2 separate regions of the Homo sapiens genome follow, and region 1 is linked to region 2. The links are contacts of gene promoters, found by promoter capture Hi-C in human tissues and cell types (Jung and others, 2019). All regions are on one chromosome and are shown on one strand. The core of a region is centred on a gene start or on the middle of the fragment in contact, and the rest is flanking DNA. Distances in the headings are between cores, read along the strand shown. Region 1 overlaps DCHS2 (dachsous cadherin-related 2). Region 2 holds the start of SFRP2 (secreted frizzled related protein 2).

Region 1 (5,909 bases), core at 1,595-4,094, 510 kb after region 2:
AATATCCTTATTCCTAAAATTGCTCTACCTGAGAGCTCACCTGGGATCATGGAATTTATCTTTCCCACATTCACCTTTATAAGCACTCTTCTTGCAAATTAAAAAAGAAAGTCTCCCTCTCACCCAAATAAATGGCTGCCAAATAAAGTGGTCATTCCCAATGTTGAAAGTTCAATGTCAAAACAGTGACTGATTTTAATGCCTGGGAAGATATCCTTATGCAGTGGGAGAGTGTCTCTGCTATCAACCAAATTATAGAGCCTATTCAAGTTTTCAAGTGGTAGATAAAGAAAAAATAAAGACTATTCATTAACTTTTTGGCATATAACTCAGAAGGCATACAAGTACTAAATTAACTTCTGTAACAATACTTCCATTTTTAAAAAGGTGAGCAAGGATTTTCAGTTCTTACATCTGTAACAAAGAGAAACAGCAACAGACTTGGCACTGTGCTTTGCCTTTTGCCTTATTTTTATTTATTTATTTATTTATTTTTATTTTTATTTTTTGAGACAGAGTTTCGTTCTTGTTGCCCAGGCTGGAGTGCAATGGCGCAATCTCAGCTCACCTCAACCTCTGCCTACCGGGTTCAAGCGATTCTCCTGCCTCAGCCTCCCGAGTAGCTGGGATTACAGGCATGTGCCACTGGCTAATTTTGTATTTTTAGTAGAGACGAGGTTTCTCCATGTTGGTCAGGCTGGTCTCAAATTAACTCCAGACCTCAGGTGATCTGCCCACCTTGGCATCCCAAAGTGGTGGGATTACAGGCGTGAGCCACTGCACCCAGCTGCTTTGCCTTATTTTAGCAAAAAGGAACATGCATTCCGAGAATCATGAACTCACTGGAAAAAAGGAACCCATTAATCTGATTCAGAGATGCATTTACAACACAATTTTACTTTTTATGTTATTATTGGTCAAAATTGGAATACACTTTTGCTATTTTAATCTTACAATCATAATAATAACAATCTAATATAATTTTCAAAACTGAGACCTTATGTTCATTGGAAATTTTTAGAAGTCTTAAATTTATCCACATATTTTAATTGTAGAAAAGTATAATAAAATGATCAATATTTTAAGCATAAAAGTCCATTACGTTATGGTAAAATTCTGCAAGGATGTAGAAAGGTAATATTGATTGAAGAAGTAAAAATGCAAAACATATAACTGAAAATGCTCATTCATACATATAATTGAAAAAAACTTAAGTAAAATTCTACATTTTTATTAACTTAAAAAAATCATATTTCAAACAGTAGAGTCTGTGAGCTATGAAAATTTACAATTCACTTGGCATTCCCAGCGCCTTGCGCTCCCTGTGACTGCGCTGTGCAGGCGTCTTGGTTTGTGCAGGGTGGTTCTCATCCTTGCCAGCATCCCCTTCCCCTTTCTCCCCTTACACACCTCACTCCCTTCTTTGCCGAGTTGTGGGGGCTGTTTTAGGCCTGGCTTTTGTTTTTGGAAGGGCAGGTTTAGCAGACAACCCTGCCTATCTCCTGTGTGGCTCCTCTATCACCTTTGCTGTGTCACCTTTTTAGCCGATTTCCTGGGCATGGTGGCTTGGCAGGCAGCTTTGCCAATCCAAGGTATGCTCTCTGCTCCTGGAAAGATTTCTGAGTCCCACAGCCATCCGAGGGCTACGGAGCTCCCAGTTTCCAACCTGGCTGAGAAGGTGGCCTCAGCTTGGGCAGAACAGGTGGAGACTTTGGGACCATGAAGAGACATGCAGAGCCAGGAAAGAGGAAGGTGACACAAGGGGAGGATGCCTTTCATATATATATACTTATATATATTTCATATATATATACTTATATATATACACACATATATGAAATATATATACGTGTATATATACACACATATGAAATATATATACGTGTATATATACACACATATATATGAAATAGATATACGTATACACACACACACACACACACACACACACACACCCACACACACACATATTTTTTTTTTTTTTTGAGACAAAGTCTCACTCTTTTCCCCCAGGAGGGAGTGCAATGGCACAATCTCAGCTCACTGCAACCTCTGCCTCCTAAGTTCAAGTGATTCTCCTGCCTCAGTCTCCCAAGTAGCTGGGATTACAGGTGCCTGCCACCACACCCAGCTAATTTTTGTATTTTTAGTAGAGGTGGGGTTTCACCATGTTGGCCAGGCTGGTCTCGAACTCCTGACCTCAGGTGATCCGCCCACGTTGGCCTCCCAAAGTGCTGGGATGACAGCCATGACCCACCGTACCTGGACACCTTTCATATATTTTTAAGGTTTTTTTATTCTATCAAATACTTTTAAAAGGTGATTGATATAACAGTCTTATTTTAATGTGTCAATATTTAGGATATGCTGGGAAACACACCTTTGTTACTCTTTAAAAAAAGTTTAGTTGACAACATAAAAATATGTCTGCGTACATAAGTTTTCAAGATTATTTTAAGGGTAAGTGAAGCAAAAAAAAAAAAAAAAAAAAGCTGAAGATCACTGGCAGAGACTAGCAGAAGGACCCAGACCATGATGGGGGAGGTAGAAAGGGGGTGAGGCTGATGTGTCATTTTGGACACACTGATAATGCAATGCTGTTGGATATAAAGACTGGGTCCTTGGGGCTGTTAGGAAATTGTGAAATAATTTGAAATAGGAGGAACAAGGTTAGTAGGTGTCCTGGTATTGAAGAAAGAAGGGTGGGGCACAGGTGTCCAGTGTGTCTTTGCCATCAGAATGTTCTTCCACCTTCACCGCATTTTGACCACTCTGTAAATTGTTGAAAACTGATAATAATGTAAATGATTCTTATCCACAGAAATGCAAGTAAATCTGGTGAAATGCACTGATTGTTGTCTTGCAAATACACCTTTTCTGCATTTCAGAATTCCTTATTCCCTTTGTGTGTGTATGTGCCTGTGTATGGCTCTTGGAATTCTCCTTGAACCCATTTTAACATCTTTTTGGTTTACTTATTCATTAGTGAATTAAATAAAAGTTATTCGCAGGTACCATTTTTATATTTGTATGAGAGTTATTACTTTACTTTTAAAAACAATATCCTTTAACGGGACCTAGATCTAGGATGCAGATGGAGATGGGAGCCATTGGCATCCCAGTGGTAGCTAAAGACAGAGACTGGATGAAATGACCCAGTAAGAATCTGTCTATGAGACAAGAAAAATTAAAAAAAATTAAAACTGATCACATGAAAGCAACAAAAATAGAAAAACACTATCTTTTCCATCCTTACATCCACTAATGTTAGCATAGAAAAAAATTCACAGCAGTTTGCAAAGGCAGATTTTTAAAGAATGTGGAGAGCAGTGGTTCAAGGTGGCTGTGAGAAGGAGGTAGAGAGAAAGCTCATGGCACCAGTCAGTTCTGACTGGGTGTGTATTTTGTAGAGAAAAGCAACAGGTATCAAACACAGAGTAATCAACAGAGAGTGTGTGTCAACTCAGTCAGCATCCTGGAATAAATTTTAATTTAAAAATACTTACCAATTTGGGAGGCTGAGGCACAAGAATTGCTTGAACCTGGGAGGTGAAGTTGCAGTGAGCCATCGCGCCACTGCACTCCAGCCTGGGTGACAGAGTGAGACTCTGTCTTAAAAAAACAAACAAACAAACAAACAAACAAACAAACTTACCAATTATGTGATATTCAACAGCTCTGTTATTGCCAGCATCCATATCAGAGGCTAAAACCGTATAGACAACCTCTGGTTCCTGGTTTTCCAGAACCTCAATGTCATAACTGGAAACAATAAACTCTGGTGCGTGATCGTTTTCATCTTCAACAGTGCAGAGGATTGTTGTGGTGCTGGACAATGAAGGGAATCCCCCATCTCGTACTAGTACTGACACAGAACACAAAGACGGTATGAATTGTGGCCTTTGATTCATACCTAAAATATGTTGTTCTAACTAGACAATGTCAGGCTAACCAGGTAGCACTGGCTCAATAATATTTTATTTAAAAACACCCCAACAAAATATAACATTTCACCACTTAACAGGTTTTTTTTAAATTTAATTTTTAATTTTTATTTTTTAGCCTACTCAAAGAATCCCTTACCTCGAAGGGTGAAGACTTCTTGAATTTCTCTGTCAAGTATGGTGGTTGTCACTACCTCTCCAGTGTCAGAATTTATCTCGAATAATTCAAATGAAGCACCTGGCATGATTTCAAACTGAAGCTTGGAATTGACTCCTTAAGAAAAATATAAAGAAAAACTTAGCAATCATTTCTTTGAAATACATTTATCCACTTTCCTATTTCTTTTCCTTTGAACATGTTAGGCCATAGATGAAAATGGCAAGATTCTCAAACAGCCTTTAAATTAAGGTAAAAGAAAACCTCTTTTGGCTGTTCTTGCTAAAATAAAAGCCTCATGGGCTGAAATGCTTGATTTTCAAAAGTCTTATGAGACTTCCCCACAGTGAATGCTTAGAATTTTTTCCTTCCCATAAAAAATTTCTTATGAGTGTGCAACTCTACAACATATTCCTAATTACTCCTTCTAACACCTCTGATTGTGATTTAATGACTTAATTGTAAGCTTGCAGGGCAAATGACAATTTCTGTAGATTGACCTGCTGTTTAAAAGCCCGTGCTAAGTTATAGAACTCTGTTTATTCTCAACCTCAAGAAGCGAGCACCTAGAATTGCTTATACACGTATTTCTGTTTGTTTTGTTTTCGACTTAGTGTTCAGTCTGCTATCTGGAGTGAGAAATGTGGTACCACATTATTATGCATTTTGGAAATAATTCTTCCCATATTTTTGTGGTTTCATTTCTCCCCTGAGAAAAGTATCACGTCATTTCCATCTCTGGTTATGAAGATCATTCATACTACTAATTTTAATGAGTCTGTCCCATGCCATTGTAATTTATTGCATTTTACACAAGTTCCTCTCAGTTATTTTCCTATGTTCCTTTCTTAACTGACAAGAATCTAGGTGTACACACAGTACTGAGAATATATGATGTTATACTTTAATAAAAGACGAAATGTCATTCTTTTGGCCTTAACAAAAAATCTTCAATTACAAATTTCCATCTTGCCAGTCTTAAAAAGTAAATTTTCATTACATTATGATCTGGCAGATATTATATAGGACTGAGAGCTGAAAGGAGTGAAATAGAATTCTAGTTTTATATAAGAATGAAAATACATATCATATTACTATATAACTTGGAGGAGAAATATATTTGAGATATAATCTGCAGGCATTGGAATGACCCTGAGAAAAAAAGTCTAATAACATAGGACCAATGTATTTGATATGACATGGTCAGAGGTCACCAAAATGTTTCATTCTATTATTAGGCATTACGTATATTATTAATGATATTACTAAAGAGTCATAGTGATTATTTCAGTAACTTAAGGATCATATAATCTATTCTATAGCAAGACAGAATTTCTTAAAGTTCCAGGTTGTTAAAATTTGTTATTCCTATCTCTGCCTACATTATAAAAATGGGAACAATATTATCTTATATTTACTTTCCTTTTCCTCAAAAAAAAGAGAGAAATATCAGGTGCCAAGCATAGTACTATGTGCCAAAGACAGAGTGCTGAGTCAGATATGACCTCTGTCTTCAAAAAGATTACATGGATCTTTTAAATGAATGAGCTCATTTATATGATTTTGTTACACATTATATATACACCATTTCATATTATTTTATATGATTTTCTTACACATTATATATACCATTGCATATTATGTATTGTATTACATATTATAGAATGCTATATATTATACATTTTTAATTCTCACCACTTGCCAAACCTAGAAAATGTCTTCAATTGTTTACACATAAATTCAGATCTTTCTGCTGTCCCTTCCCATTATCCTCTAATGTGCTTCACCACTCTACTCAATATTTCTCT
Region 2 (5,399 bases), core at 106-2,605:
AATGTTCAATTTTCCACACACTCCGTGCCAGTCCCGGTTTTATTTCCAAAATCTAAATTGACAAAGGACAAAAAGACCCTTAAAAGGTTATCTACTTGTGCATCCTGGTTTTCCTTTCTGTACAGGAAATGTTCCTGTGACTAGAATCCTGCCCAGTGGTAGGAAGGTGCAGAATGAGGCTGAGCGAGGGGCCTCTGGCCAGAATGCTCACCACAAACTCCTCCACCAAACACCACTTCCAACGCTCTGCGCAGCTCCAGTGCTAGCATCTTTAACAATAATCGTGTATCTATTTTTTTTTAAACCGCCGTTCAGTTCTTCGTTTTTTTAGTTTTGTTGTTTTTGTTTGTTTGTTTTATTTTTAAACTGCCCTTAAGTATAGCTGGTACAACTCGGGAGGAGAATGCGCGAGACTTGGGCGGCGTGGGAGGGGTGCCTCAAATTTGATACAGGCTTGTTGTGATGACAGACCAGGTCAGGCAGAACTTCTGCCCTTCCCGCTACTGGCACCCCAAGCAGGGATGCACTGGGATGCGTGGCAGGGGCGGGATCTCCTGGGAGCGTCTCAGCCCAGCAGGGAGTGGGGAAGCAAGAGGGAAGGCTTACCTTCCTCGGTGGCTGGCAGGAGGTGGTCGCTGCTAGCGAGGGGGATGCAAAGGTCGTTGTCCTGGGGGAAACGGTCGCACTCAAGCATGTCGGGCCAGGGGAAGCCGAAGGCGGACATGACCGGGGCGCAGCGGTCCTTCACCTGCACGCAGAGCGAGTGGCATGGCTGGATGGTCTCGTCTAGGTCATCGAGGCAGACGGGGGCGAAGAGCGAGCACAGGAACTTCTTGGTGTCCGGGTGGCACTGCTTCATGACCAGCGGGATCCAAGCGCCGGCCTGCTCCAGCACCTCCTTCATGGTCTCGTGGCCCAGCAGGTTGGGCAGCCGCATGTTCTGGTATTCGATGCCGTGGCACAGCTGCAGGTTGGCAGGGATGGGCTTGCAATTGCTGCGCTTGTAGGAGAAGTCGGGCTGGCCAAAGAGGAAGAGCCCGCGCGCCGAGCCCAGGCAGCAGTGCGAGGCGAGGAAGAGCAGCAGCAGCGAGCCAGGGCCCTGCAGCATCGTGGGCGCGCGACCCCGAGGGGGCAGAGGGAGCGGAGCCGGGGAAGGGCGAGGCGGCCGGAGTTCGAGCTTGTCCCGGGCCCGCTCTCTTCGCTGGGTGCGACTCGGGGCCCCGAAAAGCTGGCAGCCGGCGGCTGGGGCGCGGAGAAGCGGGACACCGGGAGGACAGCGCGGGCGAGGCGCTGCAAGCCCGCGCGCAGCTCCGGGGGGCTCCGACCCGGGGGAGCAGAATGAGCCGTTGCTGGGGCACAGCCAGAGTTTTCTTGGCCTTTTTTATGCAAATCTGGAGGGTGGGGGGAGCAAGGGAGGAGCCAATGAAGGGTAATCCGAGGAGGGCTGGTCACTACTTTCTGGGTCTGGTTTTGCGTTGAGAATGCCCCTCACGCGCTTGCTGGAAGGGAATTCTGGCTGCGCCCCCTCCCCTAGATGCCGCCGCTCGCCCGCCCTAGGATTTCTTTAAACAACAAACAGAGAAGCCTGGCCGCTGCGCCCCCACAGTGAGCGAGCAGGGCGCGGGCTGCGGGAGTGGGGGGCACGCAGGGCACCCCGCGAGCGGCCTCGCGACCAGGTACTGGCGGGAACGCGCCTAGCCCCGCGTGCCGCCGGGGCCCGGGCTTGTTTTGCCCCAGTCCGAAGTTTCTGCTGGGTTGCCAGGCATGAGTGGGAGAGGGTGTGTGTGTGTGTGTGTGTGTGTGTGTGTGTGTGTGTGTGTGTGTTGGGGGGCTGCGTCCCTGGTAGCCGCGTGTGCCCTGTGATGGAGCCCGGGACCTGCCCGCCCGAGGCCGCCTCGGCGAACTTCGTTTTCCCTCGAATCTCCAGCCACCGTTCAGCAGCCTGTCGGTGTGCTCCCCAATGCCGTAAAAAAATCAGAATTATAAATATATTCGTATGAGCAGAACTTTACATGGAAAACGAAATACTAATAAAATGGGCTTGTTATTCTGTTGGAGTGAGTGCCTAGGAAGGGTTTCGTCGTTGTAGAAACGCCCCTACAAGAGTCTCACCAGTCACACAGGACTGCCCACCATTTCCCCGTTTTGGAGAGATTTTTCCTTCTTAAATGAATGGCATGACTCAATACTCGAAGGCATCACGGGCTCTAACACACAGCCGCCCTTGCAGCTGTGCGCTCTGGAAAGCTGGAGTATGGGCCCCCAGGGCACTGTTTGTAAAGACTGGTGGCCGGCACAAAAGACGGGCACAAAAGATGGGCAGGCTGGGAGGGAGCGAGGTAGAGGAAGGAGTCCTGCCTAGAGATCCACGAGGGCTAGAATTAGCTCATTCATCCCCTACGTACCAGGGGGCACCATGCTGGGCGCTGGATGTGCAGAAATGAACAAACAGGCCGGCCTCTGCTCTCGTGGAGCCTGGGATCTAGTGTCTCTGACTGCAAACAGTAAGTTCTGGGTTGGGGGGTGGGCTCCTTTTGCCTAATTGTCCCTAGTCTCCCTATGGGGACAGGAGGCCTTCGCTCTCCTCAGCCGCTGTCTCCGGGTGGCTGTGAAGATCCAAAGAGATAATCCCCGGAGGGCGAAGTTCTTTCATATGTAAGGTGGGCGCATTGTTATTACTTCCCGACCACTTAAGAGTCATTCACAGGCTCAGACCCCGGCTTCCTAATTTCCCTCCTTCCGGAAGATGCGTTGGCCTTGGCGGCTCCCAGGCCCAAGTTATCAGGCACACTTTGCGGTCCAGCTGCTTAGAGGAGCCGGGTAATGAATGAATGGGTGGCAAAAGCCCACTCAGTGTTATCTGCTGACCGTAAACACGCCAGGAAAATCGTCATCTGGAGAGAATGCACATTCTGAACTCCAAGAATCTGCGTCCCTAAGAGCCCAGCTTCCGGGTGCTCTGCTGGGGAAGGGCCCGGGGTAGCTGCAAAAGGCCTCTCTTTCCCCAAATTGGTTCAGGGCCTTTTCGTCTCTAACGAAAGCACCAAGAGGCCTAAAAGCCCCCTTCCCAACATAAACTACTTTGCAATGAAACCACAAAGGAAACAGAAGCACACCAAAAGAAAGAGCTAATAAAGAGCGTGAGCTCTGAGAGATGCTACGACTTGGGCCTGGGAGTGGGATAAGGGCCCTCTCGCTTTCACGCCCCCCCAACCCCCCGCCGGCCCCGGCCAACCCCTAAATCCCCAACGCCCTCCGCTGGGGTCGCCTCCTCCCCGCAGAGCCCCTTGTTGGGAGTTCAAGGAGCCCGAAGCTGGTCTGGCTGGTTTGAGCCCCGCGCTGCCGCACGCCCGGAAGTGGCTGGCGGCCCCCGCGCTCCGCGCGCCGGCTGCATTGTTTTGGGAGCCCTCGCTGCCCGGCTTGCCGCCAGGAGGTGCTGGGAGTCGCGCCTGAGTCTCCATCCCTGCCGTGCGCAGTGTCCACCTCTGGCCAGCTTGTTTGCCCGGCCCGCGGCGTCCCCTGCGGCCCATCGCTGCTCCTCCCGGAACCCACGCCACTTAGTCTGGTCCCGACCCTGCACTCGCTGCTGCTGCCTTTCCCACCTCAAGTCGCTCTCCCCACTCCCTTCTGCTTTTGGGCTAAGACCGGTCCAATTGATCACTGGGGAACAGGGCAATAACCTCCCGCGGAGGCTGGGACGCGGGCACGGAGCTCTGCCCATATGAGCAGCGCAGGGATGGGACACTGGGTGCCCATCCCAGCGCGCCTCCCCAGACTGGTCCCTGGGATGCTCACACGTGGCGCGGCACCGCGGCGGCGCCTTCACGAACCCAGACTCTTCTCTGCTGCCAGTTGACCTCAGGTCCACAGGTCTCCTTCGATCCTTGCAATTGATCAAAACCCACCAAAGGCTTTTATTTGTACCAATGGACCGTCCATGTTTACCCCCTCCCTGCCCATTTAAGGCACGGAAAATCTATTCACCCAAGCCCAGGGTAAGTGATGGTGGATGCCCACTCCACCGGGCATCTTGCTTAAAGGGGGCTGCCCATAGGTCCCTGGAGAGGGGCTTGGTCCAGAACACACACAGAATGAACATCATCCCACCCCAATGCTGCAGGTCTACGGAAGAGCCTCGACCTCCCGTATCCTGGGTTTGGCTCTGCTTCTCTGCTTGAGTGTTTCCTGTGCTCAGGGCACTGAAGAAGCTTGAGGCACAAAGAAAGCCCCCAGCAATCTCTCCAGAACAATTTGGCTTCTTGTTTAAACCTGTGCTGGCTACAAGAGTTTCTGGACAGGCAAGACCTTCACTCTCACGTTCAGATTCTGTCCTGTCAGGGAGTCCGCTTGGCCTCCGCGAAGAGCTGGGAAAAGCGAGCCTCCCACCCCCACTCTCAAGTAGTAAAATCAAAGCGGATGGACCCTTATTTCTGAGGAGTGAAAGCGAGAAGAACGATGCGTGTAAAATGCTAGTTCCTTAATTCACACAATCCAGCACCGGCTCCCGGATGATCATTTTGCACACAAGCAGTCACTGGGAAACTGAGGCATGGAGAGGTTAAGTAACGAACCGGGCCACACCGTAAGTGGTACAGCTGCTGACGTTACATGTGCCTCGGTGAGGTGAAGTGACTACCGGGCTAGCCTTGGGGACCTGTCGCGACTTGTCGGGTGTCTCCAACCGCGTTGCCGCCTGGCTTTCAGCCGTGCGCTGGCCAGCCGGGCGGGTGACGTCACCTCTCCCCGGGTCCGTGCACCCAGGCCTTCCCTGCTCCGGGTGAGTATTTTTTCATGGGATTCAGCCATCTGGGGGCGCCATTTCCCAAAACAGAGATTGTCCCTTTGAGGTTGCAAGTCAGGTTCCTTTACGCTGAGATCCCTTACATTTTTACTTTTAGGAAGGTTTTTTCGAGGGGTGGGGGGATGACCTCATTCCTTCGCCTTTGGCCCTCCCTCTACCCGGCCCCACAACGAGGACGCCCCTGCAGCTGGCTGGGCCGCTTCCTCTTGCCACGCGGGGGGACCTGTGCCCGCGGCCGTGCACCTCCGTGTACGCTTCTGCTCCTCGGACCCCATCGGTTCAGACGCGGATTTCCGAGAACGAGACCAGAGTCTGCGTCTGGAGAGCCTTTGCCCCTCATCTTAGGAAGAGTCTAGTCTGAGAACAAACAGTTTGCCAACTCCTACCCCGAGCTCTTGCGCGTATCTCCTTAAATATTTCAAGGGTCTGGGCCCCAGATGGGTGCTCGGAAAGCAAACGAAGGGTCCAGGGAGGCCGAGGCCAACGCGGAGCTCAGCGCCCCCTTCTTGCCTGAAGGGGCGCGCTGGAGGAGGAAGGGCGCGGCGGAGACGCAGAAGGCGGTTCCTTGGGGGCAAAGCAGGAGCCAGTCTGGGGCCTA

What was found. Contacts are between HindIII fragments. The study calls those that stand out against the background at their distance.
Region 1: a fragment that was not itself captured here is called in contact with the fragment with the promoter of SFRP2 in region 2 in 1 of the 25 tissues and cell types used here (dorsolateral prefrontal cortex).

The regions. Positions count from the first base shown.
Region 1 is chr4:154,301,014-154,306,922 of GRCh38, forward strand. DCHS2 (dachsous cadherin-related 2) reads right to left here. Exons shown (of 20, transcript NM_001358235.2): 11 at 4,084-4,218; 12 at 3,656-3,865. Among named protein-coding and RNA genes, the nearest start is that of DCHS2, 190 kb to the right of the region's middle. The HindIII fragment of the contact is 3,082 bases long and covers 1,304-4,385 here.
Region 2 is chr4:153,787,728-153,793,126 of GRCh38, forward strand. SFRP2 (secreted frizzled related protein 2) reads right to left here and starts at 1,356. Exons shown (of 3, transcript NM_003013.3): 1 at 607-1,356. The coding sequence starts at 1,108. RefSeq lists enhancers at 1,500-1,669, 1,584-2,285, 2,286-2,987, 3,249-3,418, 4,392-5,093 and 2 more. The HindIII fragment of the contact is 9,313 bases long and covers 1-5,399 here.